Regions from separate parts of the Homo sapiens genome. Here regions 1, 2 and 4 are each linked to region 3. The links are contacts of gene promoters, found by promoter capture Hi-C in human tissues and cell types (Jung and others, 2019). All regions are on one chromosome and are shown on one strand. Each heading gives the region's core, a stretch centred on a gene start or on the middle of the fragment in contact. The rest is flanking DNA. Distances are from core to core; before and after follow the strand shown. Region 1 overlaps TEAD1 (TEA domain transcription factor 1). Region 2 overlaps LOC105376556 (a long non-coding RNA gene). Region 3 holds the start of TEAD1 (TEA domain transcription factor 1). Region 4 overlaps LOC105376556 (a long non-coding RNA gene).

What was found. The method cuts DNA at HindIII sites, captures the fragments that hold promoters and counts their contacts. A contact is called where the count stands out against the background at its distance.
Region 1: a contact is called between a fragment that was not itself captured here and the fragment with the promoter of TEAD1 in region 3, in 16 of the 25 tissues and cell types used here (H1 embryonic stem cells, IMR-90 fibroblasts, bladder and 13 more).
Region 2: a fragment that was not itself captured here is called in contact with the fragment with the promoter of TEAD1 in region 3 in 2 of the 25 tissues and cell types used here (bladder and liver).
Region 4: a fragment that was not itself captured here is called in contact with the fragment with the promoter of TEAD1 in region 3 in 2 of the 25 tissues and cell types used here (neural progenitor cells and thymus).

The regions. Positions count from the first base shown.
Region 1 is chr11:12,714,765-12,717,464 of GRCh38, forward strand. All of the region lies in intron 2 of TEAD1 (TEA domain transcription factor 1), which reads left to right. Among named protein-coding and RNA genes, the nearest start is that of TEAD1, 42 kb to the left of the region's middle. RefSeq lists an enhancer at 247-1,087. The HindIII fragment of the contact is 6,546 bases long and covers 1-2,700 here.
Region 2 is chr11:12,638,299-12,640,998 of GRCh38, forward strand. LOC105376556 (a long non-coding RNA gene) reads left to right here. Exons shown (of 5, transcript XR_931039.2): 3 at 1,003-1,140; 4 at 2,100-2,239. Among named protein-coding and RNA genes, the nearest start is that of TEAD1, 35 kb to the right of the region's middle. The HindIII fragment of the contact is 5,333 bases long and covers 1-2,700 here.
Region 3 is chr11:12,673,019-12,675,718 of GRCh38, forward strand. TEAD1 (TEA domain transcription factor 1) reads left to right here and starts at 1,403. Exons shown (of 13, transcript NM_021961.6): 1 at 1,403-1,816; 2 at 2,391-2,543. RefSeq lists a silencer at 1,095-1,394 and an enhancer at 2,230-2,700. The HindIII fragment of the contact is 23,361 bases long and covers 1-2,700 here.
Region 4 is chr11:12,621,881-12,624,580 of GRCh38, forward strand. All of the region lies in intron 1 of LOC105376556 (a long non-coding RNA gene), which reads left to right. Among named protein-coding and RNA genes, the nearest start is that of TEAD1, 51 kb to the right of the region's middle. The HindIII fragment of the contact is 6,544 bases long and covers 1-2,700 here.

The sequences.
Region 1 (2,700 bases), core at 169-2,668, 42 kb after region 3:
CTTGTTGGCCTGCAGTAATGGTCTTCTTGCTGTGTCCTTGGGTGGTCTCTCCTCTGTGTGTGTCCCTAGTGTCTCTATGTCCCAGTCTCCTCTTGTAAGGACACCAGTCACACTCGGTTAGGGCCCACCTTGTTAATCACCTCTTTAAAAGGCCATGTCTCCAAATGCTGTCACATCCTGAGGTACTTGGGATTAGGGGTTCAACATACGATTTTTTTGAGGGGGAGACACAATTCAGCCCATAACAATTCCGCAGTTCTCTACCAAGTGTCAGTATGTGTCAGGCACTGCCCTCTAGGAATGTAGCTATGAATAAAACACAAAAATCTCTACCCTTATGGAGCATACCATGGGGTCGGGGAGTTTAGTGGTCTTCAGTCACCGCTTCCAGTTTCTGTTTGGGACCCATCTAACTTAGTATGATTTTAGCACCCTCCTCTCCTCCAAATTCCTTATTCCTGTAAATTCCATGCCCTGAGACCATTCCTTCACCAGAGACAAAACCCAGGGATGGAAAAGCCTCGTGACCCAGTGTAACCAGCAGAACAGGCATCAGGGACAGGAGATCCTTTCTAGTTGAGCAGGACTCCTTGAGGGATCTGAGAAACAGATAAAGCCTGGGGACTGGGGAGGAGGAGAGGGTATGGGTCTCGGGTGATGGCTGGGCAAGGAGAGGCTGTGGGCAGTTTTCTTTAGCCAAGGGCTGGTTGCCTTCGTTTCACCTGGGTGGGGGGCCCAGGTGTTCTGCTCCTGGGGAAGCTTGTTTCTGGAAGCCGCAGCAGGCTGGCTGTCTCTCTGGGGAGCTGCACGTGATGCAGACGGGGCTGCTGGAGACAGGCCTACTGGCATGGAGACCTACCTTGCAGGGGCTTTGCCAGAAGGGGTTGGGATCAGGGAGTCACTTCCTGAATGATTTGGGTTGTAGATGGGCTTATCAGATTAAAAAAAAGATGCCCAGTTAAATTTGAATATCAGATAATCAGTGTATGTCCCATGATTCAAATTTCAGGTAAGCAATATTTGGGAAAAATTTATACTAATAAATTAATTTGAATGTCATTTTTCTGACATTCACATTTAAGGGGGCATACCATTTTTATTTCCCGAATCTAGCAATCTCACCTCTAGGGGTTCCCAGATTAACAGGTGGCGATGGAAGATGGGGGAAAGACCAACAAGAACAATCGTAATTCATTTTTTTACAGTAAAAATCTTGGCCAAGGAATCATTTCCTAGCTCACCCTCCCCACCTTCCCCCCAAGACTGAGACTGTCATTTGCCCCCTTTGCATGAACAGACCTCACAGAGAGGTCATAGCCTGGTGACTTAGGATGGGCTTCCTGTCCTGCGCGGGCTCTTTGTCTGTCGGCTTCCGGCCGAGGGATGGGAGGGGGAGCAGTCTGAACACTGGTGGAAACTCCGGCCAACTCTCTCCACTGCCCTCCTTTTCTGTTGCATTGGAACCACCGGACAAGCAGAATCGCTGTGCCCCAATCCAGCCTCATCTGTCTTAGAACAGGTAGGTGTCTGCGAGGGAGTGCAGCAGAGAGTGTGACTTCCTAGGAGTTCACGGGGGGGTTCCTGCAGCCCTTGGAGAGCACCCTTTTTCTGCTGACATCCCTCCCCCCTCCATTGAGGGACCTCTGTCATTGCTGCTGAATCCCTGGACCTGAACCTGTGATCAAGAAGTAATCCTTTTTATTTTCCCCCCAGACAATGTTTAGATTTTTGAGGTCTCATTTTTAGCAGTGTCCTGGCACTTGCTTCTTAGTCAGGGGTCAGAAAACTTTTTCTGGTATAGGTCAGATAGCAAATATTTTTGACTTTGCAGGTCACCTGGTCTCTGCCACCACCTCTCAGCTCTGCTGTTGTGGTTTGAAAGCAGCCATAGACAACATGAAAACCAGTGGATGTGGCTATGTTCCAGTAAAATCTTATTTATGGACACATGTGAACTCCATGTAGTTTATTATTCCTTTGTTTTTCAACCATTAAGGAATGTAAAAACCATTCTTCCTTCATGGGCCATACAAAAACAGATGGCAGACCAGATTTGGCCTGTGAGCCATGGTTTGCCAGCCCTCTTCTAAGTCATCAGCAGAGAACATTACAGATCAGAAGCCTGGCTCTGCGTTCCCGACATAGGCGCTGAATGGCTTCCCGCCCTGAGGTCACAGCTTCTGCTGCTCCCAGGTGACTGACTGAGCTGGGATCCGAAGTAGTGGGCTTGGCCTCTCAGCTGCCCACAATGTGGGTACCAACTCACATACCATAGTTTGCTGTACAGAGAAAGGTTCCTGCATGGATTTGTAGATCTTCAGAGGATGAGCCATAAACAGTCAAGTCTGGCCATGGAATGTAATGAATGTAGTTATACTGATCATAGACTATAATATCCAGAGTGATTCGGGGCTAATAAGTAGCCAGCAGAATTGAATGTGGGGCAGTTGTATGCCTCTGGTATGCTACTTTCTGCCTACAGTTGTGTGTGTGCTTGGTATTGTGTGTTTTAAGTGAAAGGATCAATTGGATTTGAATTTCTGTCACTGGTAGGGTCTAGCTACACCTGAAACATGAGTCAGGAGGCAGGGCCCTTCATTCCTGAGTGTCTTGACTGATGGAAGCTTTGTGTTTTATGGATAGAAGATGTGCTGTGTAAGGTGGACAGTGGAATTACACCTCCACAGAAATCACTCCTGG
Region 2 (2,700 bases), core at 51-2,550, 35 kb before region 3:
TACCACAGGCCCCTACCCACCCCAAAGCCTCAGAGCAGGATTATACTGTTTAACGATTCCATATCCCACAGGGCAAACATGGTGCCCAGTAGGCATGCTATGTTTGTCGGACTGAACAAAGTTTTGTGCATTGGTCTTGCTTCTGCCTAGTCCTGCCTCATGAACCTTTTGAATCTTTCAAAAAACTGTCTTTCAAATATTTGAAGAAACCATCAAGTTTTATCTGAATATTCTCCAGTACGAAATTTCCAACCCCTTCAACTGTACTGTGTGTGGCATTCATTCACTCATTCATTTAGTAATTTCATGCTCTGGGCTAATTACTGTGACAATGTGATTCAAATAACTGAGGTTCGATGTGAACCATGGGTGACAGAAAACTAGACTCACAATAGTGGAGTTGGTTTTTACATTTCATTAAATGGACAATTTAAAATGTAAATAGAACAGGAAGGTCAAGTAAAAGTCAGAAAGCCCCCCAGAATTACCCTTCTCTGATGTCTGAGTGTTGTGTAGGTAGTTTTGAAATTCAGAGTAGTTACATCCCACTTTATATGATCCAATCTGCTTGGAACACAGACCTTGTTTCCCATAGTCAGAAACAATGGTACATATAGAGGTGAATCCTCCCTATACCCTGAAAATCCAGCAAAGAGAGAAATCCATACTGAAGCTAACATGCTGTACATTTGCCACTGAATATTGTGAGGTATTCTGTGGCCACAGTTGCGACGATTAAACAAAACAGGAAAGCAACACAAGTTAATAAGGAAATTTTTACTTATTTTGCTGGTCCTTGAGGATAAGCAGATATTGTTCATTTATTCATTCATTCAAAAACCACATATTGGGTTTATTTAGAAAAGAAGGAAAAACTAGTTGACTATATCTGCAGGGCTTCTAAAAGGGACTTGTGGACATCTCAAGGTACTCAGAGAGTAATGCAATTAAATTACATGTGATTTCTCTTCTGAATGCCCTGTTCTCTCTTCCTCAATACAGGTCTAACACCAGCAATATTTACACACCGAAGGCACGAGTATGGCCATTTGGGGGGCTGTGATATTGTTATTGAGGAGTTTTCCAGAGATAACTAGACAAGAGCTAGAAAACAATGGAAGGAACTTTAGAAGCTCACAGGTATGTAACTGAACTAAAACAATTAACTGTGTACTGGAAAAGAAAAGAGGAATTTATTAAGTATCTACTTGTGCCAATAAACAAGACAGATATTATTTTCATAATTCTACATGAGACAAAAGAAAGGAGGTGATAGGGAGGAGATCTGAGTCAGCATATTCTGTGTTGGCCTTCACAAGTTCCTGTCATCTAGGATGTCTCATTTGATTTCAGAGAAAGATCTAGGTAAGGGAGGGAAGAGTGACCTTCCCCATTGGCATCAGAGGTACCAGAAGCAACACCTACCACTGCCTCTGTGAGTTAAGGATGCCTGATCTGGGCAGCCAAACTATATATACCTCCAAATGTAGATCCAAAAGAATCTATACACCTTGACCAAAACGTAATTTTTTAGAATAATTGCATAAATTCTCAAGAGAAGAAAAATAAAAAATAACTACTAACAACCATTGTGTTCTTCCCCACTTCATACCGCAGGATAATCCGGCATTGTTCACCCTGTGTAAAGGCTCTATGGTGGATCCATCAGGCTATCAGTCAGGTCTTTGTTGAGCTCCTTGGAAATGCACAATAGAAAACTATCCCTCAGGGAGCTTACAATCAAATAGGGAAGTAGATGTTATTAAATAAGAAACAAGGCAGGGCACAGTGGCTCATGCCTGTAATCCCAACACTTTGAGAGGCCGAGGCAGAAGGATCACTTGAGCCCAGGAATTCAAGACCAGCCTAATCAACATAGGGAGTGTGTACAAATGATTTAAAAATTAGTTGGGCACCATGGCTTGCACCTGTGGTTTCAGCTACTAGGGAGGCTGAGGTAGAAGGATCGCTTGAGCTTGAGAGGTCAAGGCTGCAGTGAGCTGTCATCTTGCTCACTCTCTTGCCCAGGTCTCAGAGCAAGATCCTGTCTCCAAAATAATAATAATAATAAACAACTTGAAATAATTAAATTATTACAGGTGTGGAAAGGGAAGATCTCAGTTTCAATGGAGCATTGGATCTATACAAGTCAAGAGGCAAAAAGTGGGCTTTGCTGAAGACTGATGCTAAAGCTGAATTCTGGACAATGAGTAGCAATGAGCCATGTAAAGAAAAGGAAGTGAGTAGGTCCTGAGGCAAAACAGAGTTTGCCACGTTTGAGGAACTGTGAGAGAACTGTTGTTCCCAGTGGGAGAACACTAAGAATGAAATTGGCTCAAAATGAGGCTGGAGATGTAGGCTTAGATTACATAGGTTGGCCAGCATAGGAATTTTAGATTTCATTTTAAAAATCAATGGGGAATCATTAAATTGCTTTAAGTTAGAGAGGAGGAATAGCTGCAGAGCAAATTTCCATTTTTTAAAGATTATTTTATGGGTAAGACTTCCAGAATAGCCACCACCATCCCCCCATCACCACATAACCCCCCCCACCACCTCCCCCCACCATACTCCCACATTCCCCCCATATCCCCCACCACAACATCCCCACCACCACCACATACCCACCACATCCCCCCCATCACCACATCCCCCCCACCACCACATCCCCCCCCACCACATCCCCCCCACCACATCCCC
Region 3 (2,700 bases), core at 153-2,652:
AATTTTAGAAATTAGCTAGGCGTGGTGGTGCGTGCCTGTAGTTCCAGCTATTCGGGAGGCTGAAAAGGGAGGATGGCTTGATTCCAGGGAGTCGAGGCTGCAGCGAGCCCAGATCGCACCATTGCATTCTAGCCTAGGTGACAGAGCAAGATCCTGTCTCCAAAAATAAAATAAAAAAAAAATTAAAAAAAAGGAAAACAATGTATTAGTAAAAGTTATGTTTTGTAGAAATGTGTTGCACTCAGTCACAGTCTAGTCTCCTCAGTTACCCATATATAGGGATATAGGGATTCCTCGGGCACAAAATATGTTGTTATTTAATCCTGAGGCCTCAGCTGGAAAAGAGAGCCAAGTGCCTAGAACGAATGAGGTCCACTGTGCGGGAACTGCTTTGCAGTTTGTTAAATAATTATAACAATCACCCGAAACTTTAGACGGTTCTGTCCCCAGTGGGTCGATTTTACCCGTTTTCTGATTTACCGACTGCGTCTATGTCACTTTTGCGTCACTACCTCCAATGGCAGGGTTAAAATGATTCCTTTAATAATGAAATGAAGTTTCTCAATAATGAAAGGGCTAACTTAAAGTCGCCGGATGCAGCATTTCAAAGTTTAGGAAGTTACTTTTGAAAAGTACAACCGGCAGAGATGAGTGAACTTAGTTTTTTAACTGACTTGGAGAAGACCTTGCTAGCAGGGCAGGTTTATTACGAACTCTGTAATTATCCTTCTTTGCTAAGCTAAAGGTTTTCCTTTCCCAACCGTAAGACAGATTTCGACTTGAGTGAGAGCTGTGAACTTTTATAAAAGTGAAAGGGAAGAGAAGAAATGGCAGGCTGGGAATCTGGCCCGGAGACGGCGTCCACCGCGCTCGAGAGCAACAATCTGCATCACCAGAAAGGCAACTTCTCTACCCTACACTTGCAGACTTCCGCGAGTCCGGGAGCACTCAACGCAGTCACCCGCGCTTCCGCGTCCCGGACTAGGGAAACTGAGGCACGGTAGGCGCGTCGCGCGCAACTCCCGCCTCGGCGCCTGCCCCCTGGAAGAAACCCAGGCTTCCAGAGTTCTTCGCGCGAGCGCAGGGACTTCCAAGCCGCGCAGCTCCCGTCCGCCCCGCCCCGCCCCGCCCCGGCTCGGGACAAAGCCCGGAGCCCGCGCCGGGAGACGGAGGGCGGCTCCCGCGCGAGCCACGCTCCCCCGTGGGCGCGAGACTCCGCCCAGCTGCCGAAAGCCCGCGCCCCAACGGCGAAGCAGCCGCGCCGGTCCGCCCCGATTCCCCATGACGTCACCGGCGGCGGCAGGCCCCGCCTCCAGCCCCGGGCGGCAGGCCGCATGACGTCACCGAGGCCCCACCCCTCCGGAGCGAGTTCGGTCCTGGCGTTCATTTCATTCCTGTCCTCATTCCGAACATTCTTAGCATCGCTCGCGCCGCGCCGCGCCGCCTGAGCCGAGCCGAGCCTCTGCTGCCGCCGCCGCGGCCCCGCCGCCCGCCGCGGGCGCCCACCAAGCACTTTGCAGACTCGCTTCCACCCTGCGGGCCATTCCGCGCGGCGGGGCCCGGGCCCGGGGCGGCCGCGTCCAGGCACAGGCCATGCAGTGACGCCCCCCCACCCCTCCACCTTTGCCCGGAGCGCGGGCAGCAGCCCAGCGCGCCAGCCGGCCCCGGGGCAGGAGCGGTGCTAGGCAGGGGTGGGGTGGCCGGGCCCAGGGACCGGGAGCCGGGGAGGGAGCCGGGCACCGAGCAGAGGGCGGGGGAAGCGGCGCCGAAGTTTGCCTCGGACTCGCCGGGCGCTGCGGTGGCTCCCTGGGCCGAGGTAAGTTGGCGCGCGGGGCGGATGCTGGGGTGCGGGGGGCGCACGGGGCAGCGGGGGGCCGGCGGCGCGTCCCTCGCGGGCCGCTCTTTCTTTGCGGGCTCTGCTTTGTGTGCGACGGCGGGCGGGCACGCGGAGGGCCGCGGCCGGGCCCCCACACCCGCCTCCCCGCGCCCCCTCCGAGGTGAGCGGCCGGGCGCCGCCGCGCGACTTGCCAGGACGCCAAGTTGGGCCGCGCGCTGGGAGCCCGCGCGGCAACAGGCGGCCCCCGGCCGGCCGCGCCGCGCCCCCCGCGCGCCCCCTCTCCCGCCGCCTGCACGCGCACACACGCACACACCCTCGGGCGCCTTGGACGGGGTGCGCTGGGGAGCCAGAAGTTCGGAGCGAGCGCGGGCGGGCAGAGCCGCCGCCTCGGAGCCCGGAGCCGGCCTGCACCCCCCTGCTTTCGCCGCCGCCCCCCGGCGCCGGGTACCCCCGAGGCCGGCCCGGGTCTGCGCAGACTTGTGCCGCTGGCGGGGGGTTCGCTCCTTCTTCTCAAAGATGAAAAAGGGCACGGTCGTCTTTGCCGCTTCTCCAGGACTGTTGCTGCCGCTGCCGCCGCCGCTTCATTGCACATTCAAGTGGAAAATTTTCAGGAGTCAGCAGAAACATTGTGTCCAAAAAAGACTGAGTCGCAGTTACCACCAAACCCAGGAGGAGACTCTCCCTGGAAAACTTCCCTTCCCTTTCGGTAGGAAATACTGGGGGATTTGTTTGTTGATTGGAAGAGAAATGATCCCCGGGGGGGAGAAAATCTGGGTACACTTCTAGTCTTTGTTCGTAACAGCAACACTTGTTTTCAAAAGTCCAGAGTCCCGCTTTAAAGAAAGTTTAACTTCTGTGACTTT
Region 4 (2,700 bases), core at 110-2,609, 51 kb before region 3:
TGAAAATAGAGATGCTGAGTCCCTTAGGTCCTAGGGAGAAAAGGAATTTAAGGAGATGTCTCAGGGAAAGTGAAGAAAGAGTGAACTGTTTCTGCATCTGTTTGCTTTGAACCCACCATGTTCAAAGCAGGCATTATGAGGGCCTTGCCTGTCTGTGGACACATTCACTAGAGGAAGAATTTTCACAAACAATGAAACAACAATTTCACAAACAATTTTAACAAACCTCTAGGTTGTTTCACTCCCATTCTGTCATTTTTATGCACTTGACTATCTATTCAGACCGAGGAACAAAAAAAAAGAAGAAAAAGAGCCTCAGAGACCTATGGGACACAATCAAGTGTATCAATATATTCATGAGAGTCCCAGAAAGAGAGGAAAGAAAGGGGAAAAATAATATTTGAAGAAACTATGGGCAAAAACTTCCCAAATTTGATTTTAAAAAACGTGAATCTACACCTCCAAGAAGCTCAACAAATTCCAATAGGGTAAACTCAAAGAGTTTCATACGTAGAAACATCATAATCAAACTGTCGAAAGACAAACAGAGAATCTTAAAAACAGCGAGAGAGAAGCAATACAGCACAAGTGGTCTTCATTAAGATTAACTTATTTCTCATCAGGAACTATGGAATCTGGGAGGCAGTGGATGGCATATTCAAAGACCTGAAAGACTCAAAAGCTCTGTATCTAGCAAAACTGTCCTTTAAAAATGAAAGAGAAATTAGGTCATTCCAATATAAACAAAAACAGAGAATGGAGTTCTTCCTGCCTAAATGAAAGGACCCTAGACAATAACTTGAGTCCACATAAAGAAATATAAGTCTCTGGTAAAAACTAAATATAAAAGACAATGTAAATATATCTTTTATTTATAACTGTTTTCTACTATATTATTTAAGAGACAACTACATAAAGCAATAATTATGAATCTGTATACCAGTCATGTATCAGACCATGCAATGTATAATGAGGTAATTTATATGAAAATAACAGCACAAATAAGAGGGTAGATACTAGAGCTATATAAGAGGAAAGTTTTATATATTGTTGTAATCAACTTTGTATTAATGCAAATTAGATTGTTATAAGATGTTAATTGTGGCTGGGCTCTGTGGCTCATGCCTGTAATCCCAGCACTTTGGGAGGCCGAGGCAGGCAGATCATGAGGTCAGGAGATCGAGACCATCCTGGCTAACATGGTGAAACCCCAACTCTACTAAAAATACAAAAAAATTAGCCGGGCATGGTGGTGTGTGCCTGTAGTCCCAGCTACTCAGGAGGCTGAGGCAGGAGAACAGCATGAGCCCAGGAGGTGGAGCTTGCAGTGAGTTGAGATTGTGCCATTGCACTCCAACCTGGGGGACAGAGTGAGACTCCGTCTCAAAAAAAAAAAAAAAAAAAAAAAGATGTTAATTGTAACACCCAGGGTAACCACTAAAAAAAAAAAAGTAAAATGGTCAACTAAAATGGCCCACTAAGTAATATCCATTTTACACAAAAGAAGGCAGTAATGGGGGAATGAATGAAGAAACAAAGAAGACATAATACATATAGAAAACAAGTAACAAATGGCAGATGTAAATCTTACCAGTTATTATATTAAATACAAACTGATTAAACACTCTAATTAAAAGACAAAGACTAGAATTATGATGGGAGGGTGCATGATTCAAATGTATGTTGTCTACAAAAGGTACATTTTAGAATCAAAGTCACAAATAGGTTTAAAGGATGGAAATATGTGTACCATGAAAACAGTAAACAAAAGAGCTGGAGTGGTTGCAGTATAGACAAAAGAGACTAAGTTAAAAATTGTTACTGGAGAAAAAAAGGACATTTTATAATGATAAAAGGGTCACTCCATCAAAACAATTATAAGCATATATGTACTTAACAACAGAGCCCAGAAATGCATGCAGCAGAACTTGACACATTTGAAGGTATTCATAGGCAATTCATCAGTAACAGAAGGAAACACTTCCTAACTCATTATTTGGAGCCAGAATTACCCTGATACCAAAGCCAGACAACTCACAAGAAAACTACAGAAAGCTATATCCCTTATGAATATATATACAAATATCTTCAACAAGATACTAGCAAACCAAATCCAGCAGCATATAAAAAGGATCATACACCATGACAAAGTGTGATTAATCCCAGGAATGCAAGGTTGGTTCAGCTCATGAAAAAAAATCAATGTACTAAATCACATTAATAGATTAAAGGACAAATCCACATTACTTTGCCAATAGATGCAGAGAAAGCGTTGACAAAATCTAACAACCTTTCATAAGAACACTGAAGAAGGCAGGAATAGAAGGGAATTTCTTTGATCTGATAAAGAGCATTTAAGAAAAACCCACAACTATCATCATACTTAATGGTGAAAGCTGATAGCTTTGCCCCTAAGGTCAGGAAAAAGACCAGAATGTCTATCTCATCCCTTCTATCTAATCAGCATTGTAGTGGAGAATCTAGTCAAGGCACTAGGCAAGAAAAAGAAATAAAAAATCATCAGATTTAAAAGAAAGAAGTAGAACTACTTCTATTCATAGATAGCATACTTAGGAATAAATTTTAAAAAAGAAGTCTTGTACACTGAAAAGTACAAAACATTGTTAAGGAAAATAAAAGAAGGAAATAAATGAAAGAAATCTCATGTTCATGGATAAAAAGATATAATATTGTTAACAT